Regions from separate parts of the Homo sapiens genome. Here region 1 is linked to region 2. Evidence: promoter capture Hi-C in human tissues and cell types (Jung and others, 2019). All regions are on one chromosome and are shown on one strand. Each heading gives the region's core, a stretch centred on a gene start or on the middle of the fragment in contact. The rest is flanking DNA. Distances are from core to core; before and after follow the strand shown. Region 1 overlaps FOXN3 (forkhead box N3). Region 2 holds the start of EML5 (EMAP like 5).

Region 1 (6,351 bases), core at 682-3,181, 610 kb before region 2:
TATTCCACTTTTAATTTTCTTCTGAAAGTGAAGAATACGGTTAGGCTTGACGTAGCAGTGAAAATGTGGAATCCTGTGTGATCCCTGTCCCTGAGGGCTTGGAACACATACCCTGCTGGACAACTGTTTGGCTGGGATGTTGGGGAGGGAACATACTAGATTACATCACCTGTGGCACTTAAAAAACAATTCCCAGCCGGGCACGGTGACTCACACCTGTAATCCCAGCACTTTGGGAGGCCAAGGCGGGAGGATTGCTTGAGTGCAGGAGTTTGAGACCAGCCTGGGCAACATGTATGTCTCTACAAAAAATACAAAAATAATTGGCTGAGCATGATGGCATACTCCTGTAGTCCCAGCTACTCAGGAGGCTGAGATGGAAGGATGGTGTGAGCCCGGGAGGTGGAGGTTGCAGTGAGCCGAGATACAGCCTAGGTGACAGAGCCAGACCCTGTCTCAAAAAAAAAAAAAATTCCCGTTTTCTTGGGCCCCTTTCTGGAGATTGTGATTCATTAGGTGTGAGGTGGGTTGGGGAAAACTGGTAGTTCTGCTAAGCTTCCTAGGTGTTTCCAGCATGGAGCCAGGTTTGAGAATCCCTGAACTAGGTGCCCTCTTGAGGTCTTTCCAGTTGCTGAGATTTCATCAAGAGCATGTTCTCATGAATGAGTCAGTCAGGGCAAAAGAGACAGCTTGGCTTTCGTTTTATCTCTGAAAGGACTTCAGAAGATAAGAGTTTTATTTTTATTTTTGAATCACGGAAATTTTCAAACATACACAGAACTAGAATCGTATAATGACTTGATATACCCCCATAACACACATCCTGATTCAGTAGTTGACAAAGGTTTGTCACACTTATTTTATTTATTCTTTTTTGTTGTCGCTGTTTCTGAAGTTGTTTTTCGGTTTTTTGTTTTGAGACAGGGTTTCACTCTGTTGACCAGGCTGGAGCGCAGTGGCATAATCATGGCTTATTGCAGCCTCAGACTCTCATGCTCAAGCCTTAGCCTTAGCCTCCGAAGGGGGGACTACAAGTACATACCACCATGCCTGGCTAATTTTTTTTTTTTGTATTTTTCATAGAAACGGGGTTTCGCCATGTTGCCCTGGCTGGTCCCAAATTCCTGGCCTCAAGCAATCCTCCTGCCCCAGCCTCCCACAGTGCTGTGGATTATAGGCATGAGTCGCTGCACCCAGCCTTGCTGAAGTAGTTTGAAGCAGATGACATTTACAATTCAAACATTTCGGTATACATAAGAATAATTGACGGTTTCTTACATAACAACCATGCTCAAGTCCCCCCTAACAAAATGAACAATTATTTGGTGTTGCCTAATGCCAGGTCCATATTCAGATATCCCTGTTTACAAAATGTTTGTTTGAATTAGGGTCCAAATGTGGTTCCTGCAGTGCCTTTTGTGATGTTTCCTGTCTGTGTCAGTCTGCAGCACTCCTATGCCCTCTTTCCTTTTTCATTCCCTTCCCTGTTAAAAGAGACCCATGGCTTACACTATAGAGTACTTGCATTCTGTTTACTTCCTTGTGATTTCGTGTAACTTGCTTCTCTCTCTCCTTCTATTTCCTGTCAAATGGAAGGAAGTACGAACGTCTGGGTCACATTCTGGATATATCACTTCCAGAAGCCTGGTCATCCCCCTCTTGGGGAAGCTGAGATTGAGCCATGGGTTCACATGAGGTCACTGTTCCCTACTCTATAAAATTTCTCATTAGTTTTTTTTTTTTTTTTTTCATTTCGTCTATGGATGATCTGTGCCTAAATCAATTAAGGTAGAGTTTTAATGTCTGGGATTAAGTTTTACACTCCCTAAATACAGGTCTTACTTAGGAGTGTAAGATTAGCATGTACTAACCTCTCTGAGTACTTGTAAATGAGAAGTAGAATGCAGTTATTTTTTTCCAGACTGGATTATAAGGTATGTGTGTATTTCTATTTCTGTGCCTTTTTTTTTTAACCTTTCCTCTTGCTACTTGAACAAAAAACATTGTCATCAAAGGGTTTATAAAGGAAACACTGTACAAAAGTATGTTTATTATATCCAGAGCTGAGTGCTTTAAATACAATTTTAGCTTATAAATATAGGCATGCTTGCTTTGTGCTTTCCATATGCAGTATCTGATTTCTTCCTCACTAAACCCTATGAAGTAGGCCCTATTATTTTCTTTCTTAAAATAGATGATGAGTTAAGCTCTGAGTGGTTAAGTAACTTGCTAGAAGTTGCACAGCTAGCAAGTGCAGAACTTACTAGGAACCTAATTGGAAGGAACCTAATTCCTTCCAACTTTTTAAAAATTATTGATTTAATTTATTTTTGAGACAGGGTCTCTGTCACACAGGCTGGAGTACACTGGCATGATCATAGCTCACTGAAACCTTGAACTCCTGGGCTCAAGTGATCCTCCTGACTCAGCCTCCCAAGTAGCTGAGAATACAGGTGCATGCCACCACATCCAGCTAATTTCAAGATTTTTTTTTTTTGTAGGGCTGCGCACTGTGGCTCATACCTGTAATTCCAGCACTTTGGGAGGCCGAGGCAAGCAGATGACTTGAGCCCAGGAGTTTGAGACCAGCCTAGGCAACATGATGAAACTGCATCTCTGCAAAAGATAAAAAAATTAGCTGGGCATTGTGGCACGCACCTGTAGTCCCGGCTACTCAGGAGGCTGAGTTGGGAAGATCGCCTGGTGACAGAGCTAGATCCTGTCTCCAGAAATAATATATTTTTAGTAAAGGTGGGGTCTTGCTGTGTCGCCCAGTCTGGTCTTGAACTCCTGTCCTCAAGTAATCCTCCCAATTGTGAGCCACCATGCTTGGCCCGATTCCCTCCAATTCTGAAGGGCATGTGCTTACCCCTGGTGCTTGCCTAGGCCTTCTCAGTATAGCAGACATTGTAGATGATCTCTCTGTGCTTCCTTTAAATATCCTGTGAATATGGGTTATAGGGGATTGAAATAACCCAAATAAACCCAGAATTAACTCTGGGGGCACAGGATAGAGAAAGGCAAATACAGAGTATATTTTTGTACCGTTGAGATGGGGCTCAATTGTCAGCACATGTAAAGTTCTTGCATCTGCACAGAGCACACAACTGTCTGCTCAGCTTCCGGTTTCCAGGCTCCATCCTGAGCCCCCTGCCTCATAGGACCCCTTCAGTGGCATCAGAGCCAAGTGAGGAAGCTTTTCTCCCTGCGTGTACACTGTTGATACAAATTGTCTCTAATTTGCTGTTCTCTTCACGTTTGCTCTCGGTAGATGAGATTCTTTTTCAAAGGCAGTTTTGAAAATGAGGTCGCACCCAGGTGTGGTGGCTCACGTCTGTAATCCCACACTTTAGGAGGCCAAGACGGGGGCATCATTTGAGGCCAGGAGTTCAAGACCAGCCTGGCCATCATGGTGAAACCCTGTCTCTACTAAAAATACAAAAAGTAGCCGGGTCTGGTGGCGGGCGCCTGTAATCTCAGCTACTTGGGAGGCTGAGGCAGGAGAATCGCTTGAACCCGGGAGGCAGAGGTTGCGGTGAGTGAAGATCACGCCACTACACTCCAGCCTGAGCGACAGAGTGAGACTCTGTCTCAAAAAGAAAAACAACAACAAAAAAAGAAACTGAGGTTGCACCTCTATGTGTCAGCACCCCACGTGAGCAGTTGCTTCTAGTTTTCTCTTCTTGGTGTTGTGAATGCAGAATCAAGAGCATTTCCCCTAACCGTGACACCAGTCAACCTACCTGTCTCATTGATGGACCTTTTAGGAGGAAGAGATGACTTATTATTATTATTTTTTTGGATAAATAATGCTCATTGGAAGACAGTGTGGTCTGGTTCGGATGTGTAAATTCCTAAGAATTAGTGTAATGTTGGGTGGGGTGGAACATGTAATTTTGTAATGTGTGTGAGACTCCTCTGTGGTCTCTGGGTGAAGTGACAATCCTCTTCATCCTCGACCTGGGGCTGCCTTGTCCAGCGTCGGAAATGGCTCTCCCTGAAGACGGCCTCCTTCTCACCGGTGCCTACTGCCAGGCGGGCTGCTTTCTGCTGTCTGTGCTATAGGCTATGTCACCTCAGAAGGTTGAGAGTTTACCAGGGTCTCTGAGGGGCCAGAAATAAAAATACTCCCTTGTCACAGGCCCTGGAATAGGAAGCCATTCATACCAGCATCCTGTGATCCCAAGAAAGCGCAGCTCCCTGACCCATCCTGCCGATTTTTTTTTTTTTTTTTTTTTTTTTTGAGACAGAGTCTCGCTCTGTCACCCAGGCTGGAGTGCAGTGGTGCAATCTCGGCTCACTGCAACCTCCGCCTTCCCAGGTTCAAGCGATTCTCCTGCCTCATCCTCCTGAATAGCTGGGATTACAGGTGCGTGCCACCACACCCAGCTAATTTTTGTATTTTTAGTGGAGACAGGGTGTTTGTTGGTCAGGCTGGTCTCGAACTCCTGACCTTGTGATCTGCCCGCCTCGGCCTCCCAAAGTGCTGAGATTACAGCCGTGAGCCACCGTGCGCAGCCCCATCCTGCTGATTTGTTCCTTCCAGACTGTTCGTTCCTTCTTCTTCCAGTCAGTAGGTGTCTTGGGTGGGGGCACATTTCCGTTGTCTTGCTCTGGCAAACCTTTCATTTGTCTGCTCATTCATTCATTTATTCAACAAACTTTTTAAAGTACCTACTAAGTGCTAAAAGAATACAGAATTGAATGTACCATGGCCACTGCCTGTAAGGCACTCATGGTCCAGCGAGCCCTCCCCTCAGAGTCTCCCTCTCACTAGTGGAACTTCTCTAGCAGAAGCTCTTACTCCACTGCTGTATGCCCTTTGTATTCTCTGTTTTCTGTCTCACATCGTTGCTTTTCTGGCCCTTCATGGATACACTACCTTTCTACTCCTCACAGTGACTTGGCCAGGAAGATGCCACTAACCTGGATAGGGGTCTGTCTGAGGCTGCTGGGAAAGCTTCTGGGCCCGAGGGCCCTATCAATGTATCTGTCCAGTATCTCCCCCTGTTTCCTATTGAGAAAATGTTGCATTCTCTTTGGTAGGGCTTTGTGGCACCTGGATAGGTCTACCAGATACTTCATCGATGTACTGCCTGTATATCCAACCAGCAAGAAATGGTTTTCAGAACCTTCCCCATTGGGCTGGGATTTCCCTTTGAAATCATTTTGGCTGCAGGATAATTCTCTGCAGTAAATAACATAGGAAGTTGGCACTCTGACCTCCTATTTGAAAGTTATGAGTTTAGGCTGGGCGTGGTGGCTCACGCCTGTAATCCTAGCACTTTGGGAAGCCGAGGTGGGGCGGATCACTTTGAGCCCAGGAGTTCGAGACCAGCCTAGGCAACATGGTGAAACCCTGTCTCTACAAAAAATACAGAGATTAATTGGGCATGGTGGCATGTGCCTGTAGTCCCAGCTACTCTCCTGAGGCTGGAGAATCGCTTGAACCCGGGAGGTGGAGGCTACGGTGAGCCATGATCGCACCACTGCATTCCAGCCTGGGCGACAGAGTGAGACCATGTCTCCAACAACAACAAAAAATTAAAAAAAAAAAATGTGATTTGATTCTTGCTTTTTGTACTCTTAGTAGTTTACATTCCAGGGAAGCAGGAAACATAATGCAAAATAAAAAAGAATAAGTTACCGTAAGTACTGGAAGTGTGCCGATCAGTGTGAGATTGGTATCATTCAAAGTTAGGCTGGCTTCCCTTTCCCAAAGAGGGGCACTGGGTAAGCTAAAAGATAGTGATGGGCGAGTTTTGAATATTCCTTATGTTCACTTGAATAAGCTGTTACAAAGCATTCTTCGGGTGTGGGAATGAGCATTAGACCTCCAAGGATGGATTGATCAGAAGGAGGCTTGAGTGTTTATTGTAGAAAACCAATTAACAATGATTTAAACAAGCTAGGGGCGTATTTCTCCATTACATGAAAGAAGTCTTGAGGAGCTAGACAGAGACGCACATTCCCTCTTCTCTGCTGTTCTTAGGGCATTGCGGGTTTCCATTCTCAGTCTTCTCATGGTCCAAGATGGCATCAGCTAGCATGTTCCCATTTTAGGAAGCAAGAAGGGGAGTGCAGGGAAGGACAGGAGGGAGTCTTGCTGACTTCTGGTTTTAAGGGGCTTTCCCAGAAACCCCACCCTCTGCTTTGATCTTATTGGCTAGAGCTTGGTCACATGACTTCTAGCTGCAAGGAAGCCTGGGAAATGGACTCTTTTGCCTGATCCATTGGAACCCCAAGTTAAATGTTGATTCTGTTGCCAAGCAAACTTGGAACTTTCTGTCACAAAGGTCTAGATGTTTAGGAGGCAAATGTTACTGGACCCCAGGGATGTGTTGGAACAGC
Region 2 (6,194 bases), core at 1,348-3,847:
TTGAATTGTAATAATCCCCACATGTCAAGGGTGGTGCCAGGTGGGGATAATTGAATCGTGGGGGTGGTTTCCCCCATACTGTTCTAGTGGTAGTGAATAAGTCTCATGAGATCTGATGGTTTTATAAATGGAGCTCCCCTGCGCAAATTCTTCTTGTCTGCTGCCATGTGCGACTTTGCTCCTCTTTGCCTTCCACCATGATTGTGAGGCCTCCTTAGCAATGCGGAACTGTGAGTCAATTAAACCTCTTTTCTTTATAAATTACCCAGTCTCAGGTATGTCTTTATTAGCAGCATGAGAACGGACGAATACAGGGGGTATTGCAGCCTTCGTCTGGAATGCTTAACAAATGTCCATTTGTTGATGTGTATAATTTTTTGTTTCTTTCTCCCACATCCTTATTTGCATTACTTTCACAGGATACAGATGATGGAATATCACCTAGCAATAGAAGCTTCATTAAGCTTTCTGATGTGACATTGGTAATACTGGATTATATAAAGTTGTGAGGGTAAGAACTGATCAGGTTTGTTTTTTTCTTCCTCTAGTATTCATGAATGGTTCATTTTCTAGCCACCTTTGTGCCTCGGCTGTCTCTTTTGGTCTTGAGTCGCCAGTTGAGGATGGTTTAATTAAGAATGTTTTTGCTTCGCACTCTACACTTGGGTCATTAAAATCGTAATGGAAAATATGATAATGGGAAAATAAATTACTTAAATCTCTTATTAATCTGAGTACTTAAGTGTGTATCATGGGATCCATAAGATATTGTGCTGAAAAATCCGAAACATAGAAAAAACTATATTCTTCCATCTCGTCTCATAAAATTTACATGTAACCAGTAATTAATATATCACAAATGTATAGCAACAAATATTTAATGTTTTCTAAGTTCACTGCTTGAATTTAAATAATCAACAATTTTTCTTTTTCTCACCAGGGGATTTCAAGGAACTCACTAGTGAATTAGAACATATTCTTATTAAAAAACAGAAAACGCCCTCCTGGTGACAAAGAGAAACTGTGTGTGCTTTTGCCCAGGGTACCCTACATGGGCCTTAGAGCCACTTCTCAGGCCTGATTTCTTTGTTTATTTGCAGCAGCTGCCAGAAAGCTATTCCTCTTTTTCAGATTCTGCCCAGAATGGAAACTCTTTCAGAGTTTACTTTTCATGACATCTATGTAAATTCCTTTCAGATGGCCTTTATTTCCTGCATGTAAACTGCTTGCAGATTAGAAGTCATAATCAAAGACGAAACGGTAATCCTGTCTCAAGTTAGTAACTGGCATCTTTGAGGAAGTAGACATTGGATAACATCTATTCCAATATATCTGTACCACACAGGAGTCAACCCCTTTTGGAGTCATATTTCTTGAAACGATGGTAGTTTATTTTAGCTTTTGTCAGATTTCTGTCTTGGTATTTCCTATGGAAATCAAACAGTAATTTTTAGACAATAAGGGTTCATATTGGTATATCCTGAATTAGTATTTTTTTGTTGTAAATCTTGTGGCCATCCTGAACTTAACACTTTTTAAATTGTGGATTTCCAATTATTTTTAGAGGTATTGATAAATCTTGTTCATATTCCTGTGAGAAGAGGACACAACTGAGTAGGAGGGGAAATGACATAGTCAGGAATTGATTGTTCCCAATACTTTTATTACAGGAGTTTTCTACAGGATCACAATTGAATTTATTTAATTAAGAGTAACTGTTGGTGATGTCCCAGTCATTTTTAAAAAAATCGAAGTACAATTTTTTTTTTTTTTGCTATTCGGAAATCAGATCTCACATGTCAGTTTACCATCTAAAGTCTACCTTCAGCTTTGCGGTCACTTAAGAAAACATACACTTAGGACCAGGAGCAGTGGATTGGGCCTGTAATCCCAGCGCTTTGGGAGGCCTGAGGCAGAAGAACTGCTGAAGGTCAGGAGGTGGAGACCAGCCTGGGCAACACAGCAAGACCCCCGCCTCTACAAAATAAACTTAAAAACAAAGCAAAACATTTGCCGGGCATAGTGGTACGCAACTGTACTCCTTACTACTCCGGAGACTGAGGCGGGAGGATCGCTGGAGCCCAGGAGTTGGAGGCTACAGTGAGCTGAGACTGCGCCACTCCACTCCAGCCTGGGCGACAGAGCGAGGCTCTGTTTCTAAAAATAATAATTTAAAAGCACATTTAGGAAGCTCGGCATCATTCCAATGTCTGGGTCCGAAAGCACTATAAGGCAGCAAGACACACAAGGTATCAAGCGTAAAAAAGAGAATTTAGCATCCCGGTGTGGATTTTCCCAGGCAAAAACGTGGCCTACGCTGGGTGCAGGGACCGTGCGGAACCGGCAGGTGCTTCCCGGTTGAGGACGCAAAGCAGCGGGAGCCCGGGGTCGCCGAGGGTCCGCCTGGGCTTAAGCAGCTCAACGAGGGAGGGCTCACCGGCCCGCGCACTTGCAGAGACGCGGTCCCAGCGACTCCGCAACTAGACCGTGGCCCCGCGAACTCCAGCCTCTTCTCGGCTCCGGGAGGGGCGGAGTGAGCGCGGGAGGGGGCGGGGCCACGCAAGGCCGCGCGCCCGCCGCTCGGCTCGGCTCGGCTCGGCTCGCTCGGTTTCGGGGTGCGCGGCGCGGGTCCGCCAGGCTGTGGCTACAAAGCCGCGGCGGGGCGCGAGCGCCGCAGGTGACCGGGGCTGGGAGCTGCGTGCGCGGGCGGCGGCTGAGGAGCTGGAGGCGGGCCCTCGCTCTCGGCCCAGGCGCTACGGGCTGAGGAGACTAGGCGAGCCGAGGCGGGCGAAGGGCTCTGGGCATCCACTTGACAGCCGGCGGCGCTCGCGGCCCTCAGCATGTTCCGCGAGGCGAGGGTTTTCCTCCCGCCTGTGGGCTGAGGCGGCGGCGGCCCCCGAAACGAGATGCACCTGACGGGCGCGGCTTAGAGGACGCGGCTGGCGGGAAGTCCCGGCAGCCAGCGGGAGGGCTTTCGTTGCCGGGCCGCCGCCGCCTCCCGTCGCCGCCGCGGGCCCGAGCGGGAGCGGCGGGTGGGCGCCCCGACATGGCGGCCCGGAGCGCCCCGAGCTGCCACCTGCGGCTCGAGTGGGTGTACGGCTACCGGGGCCACCAGTGCCGCAACAACCTCTACTACACTGCGGCCAAGGAGATCGTATACTTCGTGGCGGGGGTCGGCGTGGTGTACAGCCCGCGGGAGCACAGGCAGAAGTTCTACCGGGGCCACAGCGACGACATCATCAGGTACCGGGGAGCGGGGGCCGCCGCCGTCACCCTGCAAGCCGCTCCCGGAGTTTGCACCCGCGGGTTCCTCTGGACGCCGTGACCGCTCCTGCACGGAGCATCACCCCGAGGGGAATCCGCAGCTGTCTCTCTGGTCCCGAGTCCACCAGTTAACACCCTACAAATGCCTTTCCCCTCTTCCTCGTCTAGGGACTCTCTCTCGGGTCCGTGCAGGAAGATCAGGTCCGCGGATCCACCGGGCACCCGGTTTGACGGCTTTGTCCCCTTTCCCACTCCATCACAATTACGAAAACTGCGAAAAGGTTATTTTGGTGGCACTTTATTCCGTTAGATCCTGTGAGAAATTTCTTATTAAACGCATTCTTAAAGCACCCGGGGTGGGGGGAAACCCTTTACCTAATAAAGGACTGATGGAAGCACAGCAAGCGGTGGGCTGCTCCCGGGGAGCGCGCCCAGGGTGGCGTCCTGAAGGGCTCTCACCTCCTGGCCGTAATTATTAGTTCAGGTTTCACCGCCTGCTATAATCAGCAGAAACCCCAGGCAACCTCCAGGCAATTCACTGGATGTTAAAATGTGCACACCTGAAGGCAATTTAAGGTAGGTCTTATCTGAAGAGGCTGCTGAAAACTTCACTGATTTCCAGTTCTCTTCATCTTCATTAAAATACTCCTAAATAAGCTACTTTTGTATTTTCTTAAAATTAAATCGCTATTGGGGGGCTATTTTTAGTCTTCCTTGGACAATAACTCAAAGTTGGTCCCAGAGCTTGTTGACATTTCTTTAGTGAGCGGTATATTTGAAATGTAATTTTCAATCAGTGTCTTAGTACAACTTTTATGGTAAAGTCAAGAGCTTCAGAAATCATTCTAGGCCACTGATTATTGCCTCAAGCACAGCATTTTTTGTCCTTTACAGAGGAAAATATATTAAAAGCAATTGAGAATGTGTTTGTGTGGTGCTCTTGGGGTTTTATCAAAGATTCTACGATTTGGGTTTGGTTACAAAATGTTATTCCCTCATGTATGTTGCACAGGATTTAAATTGGGCATTTCAAATACGGTACCTTGGTTTGAAGTCTTGTAGGCAAGAAGCCCTGGTATGTAAATTCCACAAATAAAGTTGTTCTTCTGTTTTGCGTCTCTGTACATCTATAATATGTAAGAGGGAAAGGATGCCTAGGACAAACAGAGGTAGGGCAAGATGGAGTAAAGATAAGAAAAGACAAAATTGAGATTGCAGAGTAAGGAATGAGGTGGTGCTCTGTATTCAGTTGGTTTTTTTTGTTTGTTTTTGTTTTTTGGACACCAGAGTGCTTTTTCAGATTGTATTTAATGTATTACTTTGAAAAGGTAACTGATAAGTCATTTCATTTTTCTCAAGCTGGGACTCTGTATCGTGGTGATTAGGGTTACAGACCTATTATAATAGCCCAAATTGCTGATGGAAAAACAAAACTAAAGTAAACCCGTAGTAATTATTTATCTTCTTAGTTATCCCAAGAGTAGAGTTTACCCCAGTGTCTTGTCTTTTTCCCTAATCCTTTCAAGTCTCCCTTCTTTTCCATATGCTAGGTCTCCCAAAGTACCAGGCATAGTAGCTTTACCTAGCTGGAGCAGCCTTAACTGAAGCCCTGCTCCAGATAATTTAGTCTGTTAGGTTGAATTCAGCTGGTGGAGTAAATGTGAAGGATTTTGAGGTCTTCTCGTGGTACACTTGTATTGTTTTTACTCCTTGGGGGTTATGAGAGCAGTATAGCACTAAGGTCTTCTGAAACTAGATATGATTTATTTGGTGAGGTAAATTACATCTTGTTCTTCTAGCAGTAATTAGAAGCTGTGTTATATGTCACACCGCTTAAATTTCATAATTGTGTTTCAGTAAACTGTAAGGAAGGTAATGCTTTGACTTTCTTTTGGTATAGTTGCACAACTTATACAAAACAACAAACATACTCGAATTTCTCATCGTTGAATATACATGCTTATGATTTTATCCAAATGACACATCTTTAATGTATAACAATGAAAATAAGTTTCCTGAAAAGTTTCAATGAGGGAGTAAAATCTGAATCATACAGCATCTTGAAATTGGTGGCACAAATTTAATATGATACTGAGAATATAATTTAGGAATCAGTGAAAGGGCTCTGGACATTTTATTTCAAATAGTAATGACAGATCATTCATGTTTGTGAAATATATTGAGCTAATATTAAAACCTCAATATTTTTTCAGTTCAGTGTTTGACTTGTGAGTATAGAAACAACTCTAGTAATTTTTAAATTATGCCACAGCAGAAGATGTAATATTCACAAATGTGATGCATAGTGAAAACCAATGTTGCTGTAACCTTAGCTTTAGTAATAAAAAGTCAGTGCTGTTTTCATCATCTGTTTTGTTTCCACCTTTGCCTGAAACTTATGTAAAACTTATTGGTCAAATATTACTTAGTCTGAGGATAGAACTGTTCCAGAATGAGCAGATCATTGTCCTCAGGTTTTGAAAATGTGAGTGCAATGTTGGTGGTAAAGGCTGAATCATGACTAGTCTATCATTTGCTTACTGGTTCTTTGACCATTTTATTATCACCTGGGATTGCCAGTGGTGGTGCCACATGACATTTCATCATTTTCTCAGTAAAGGCTGAATCATGACTAGTCTATCATTTGCTTACTGGTTCTTTGACCATTTTATTATCACCTGGGATTGCCAGTGGTGGTGCCACATGACATTTCATCATTTTCTCAGTAAAGGCTGAATCATGACTAGTCTATCATTTGCTTACTGGTTCTTTGACCATTTTATTATCACCTGGGATTGCCAGTGGTGGTGCCACATGACATTTCATCATTTTCTCAGTGTTGCTTGTAGTTCTCCATCTTCTTTTTGCCATCTACTTGTGTATACTTCTCTAGTCATTTATCTTTTAGTTATATTTATCTTAGTAACTGG

The links. The method cuts DNA at HindIII sites, captures the fragments that hold promoters and counts their contacts. A contact is called where the count stands out against the background at its distance.
Region 1: a contact is called between a fragment that was not itself captured here and the fragment with the promoter of EML5 in region 2, in 1 of the 25 tissues and cell types used here (dorsolateral prefrontal cortex).

What each region holds. Positions count from the first base shown.
Region 1 is chr14:89,402,397-89,408,747 of GRCh38, reverse strand. The region is part of intron 2 of FOXN3 (forkhead box N3); the gene reads left to right. Among named protein-coding and RNA genes, the nearest start is that of FOXN3, 12 kb to the left of the region's middle. RefSeq lists an enhancer at 5,328-5,828. The HindIII fragment of the contact is 4,295 bases long and covers 1-4,078 here.
Region 2 is chr14:88,789,356-88,795,549 of GRCh38, reverse strand. EML5 (EMAP like 5) reads left to right here and starts at 2,597. Exons shown (of 44, transcript NM_183387.3): 1 at 2,597-3,243. The coding sequence starts at 3,047. RefSeq lists silencers at 2,457-2,816, 3,007-3,086. The HindIII fragment of the contact is 27,448 bases long and covers 1-6,194 here.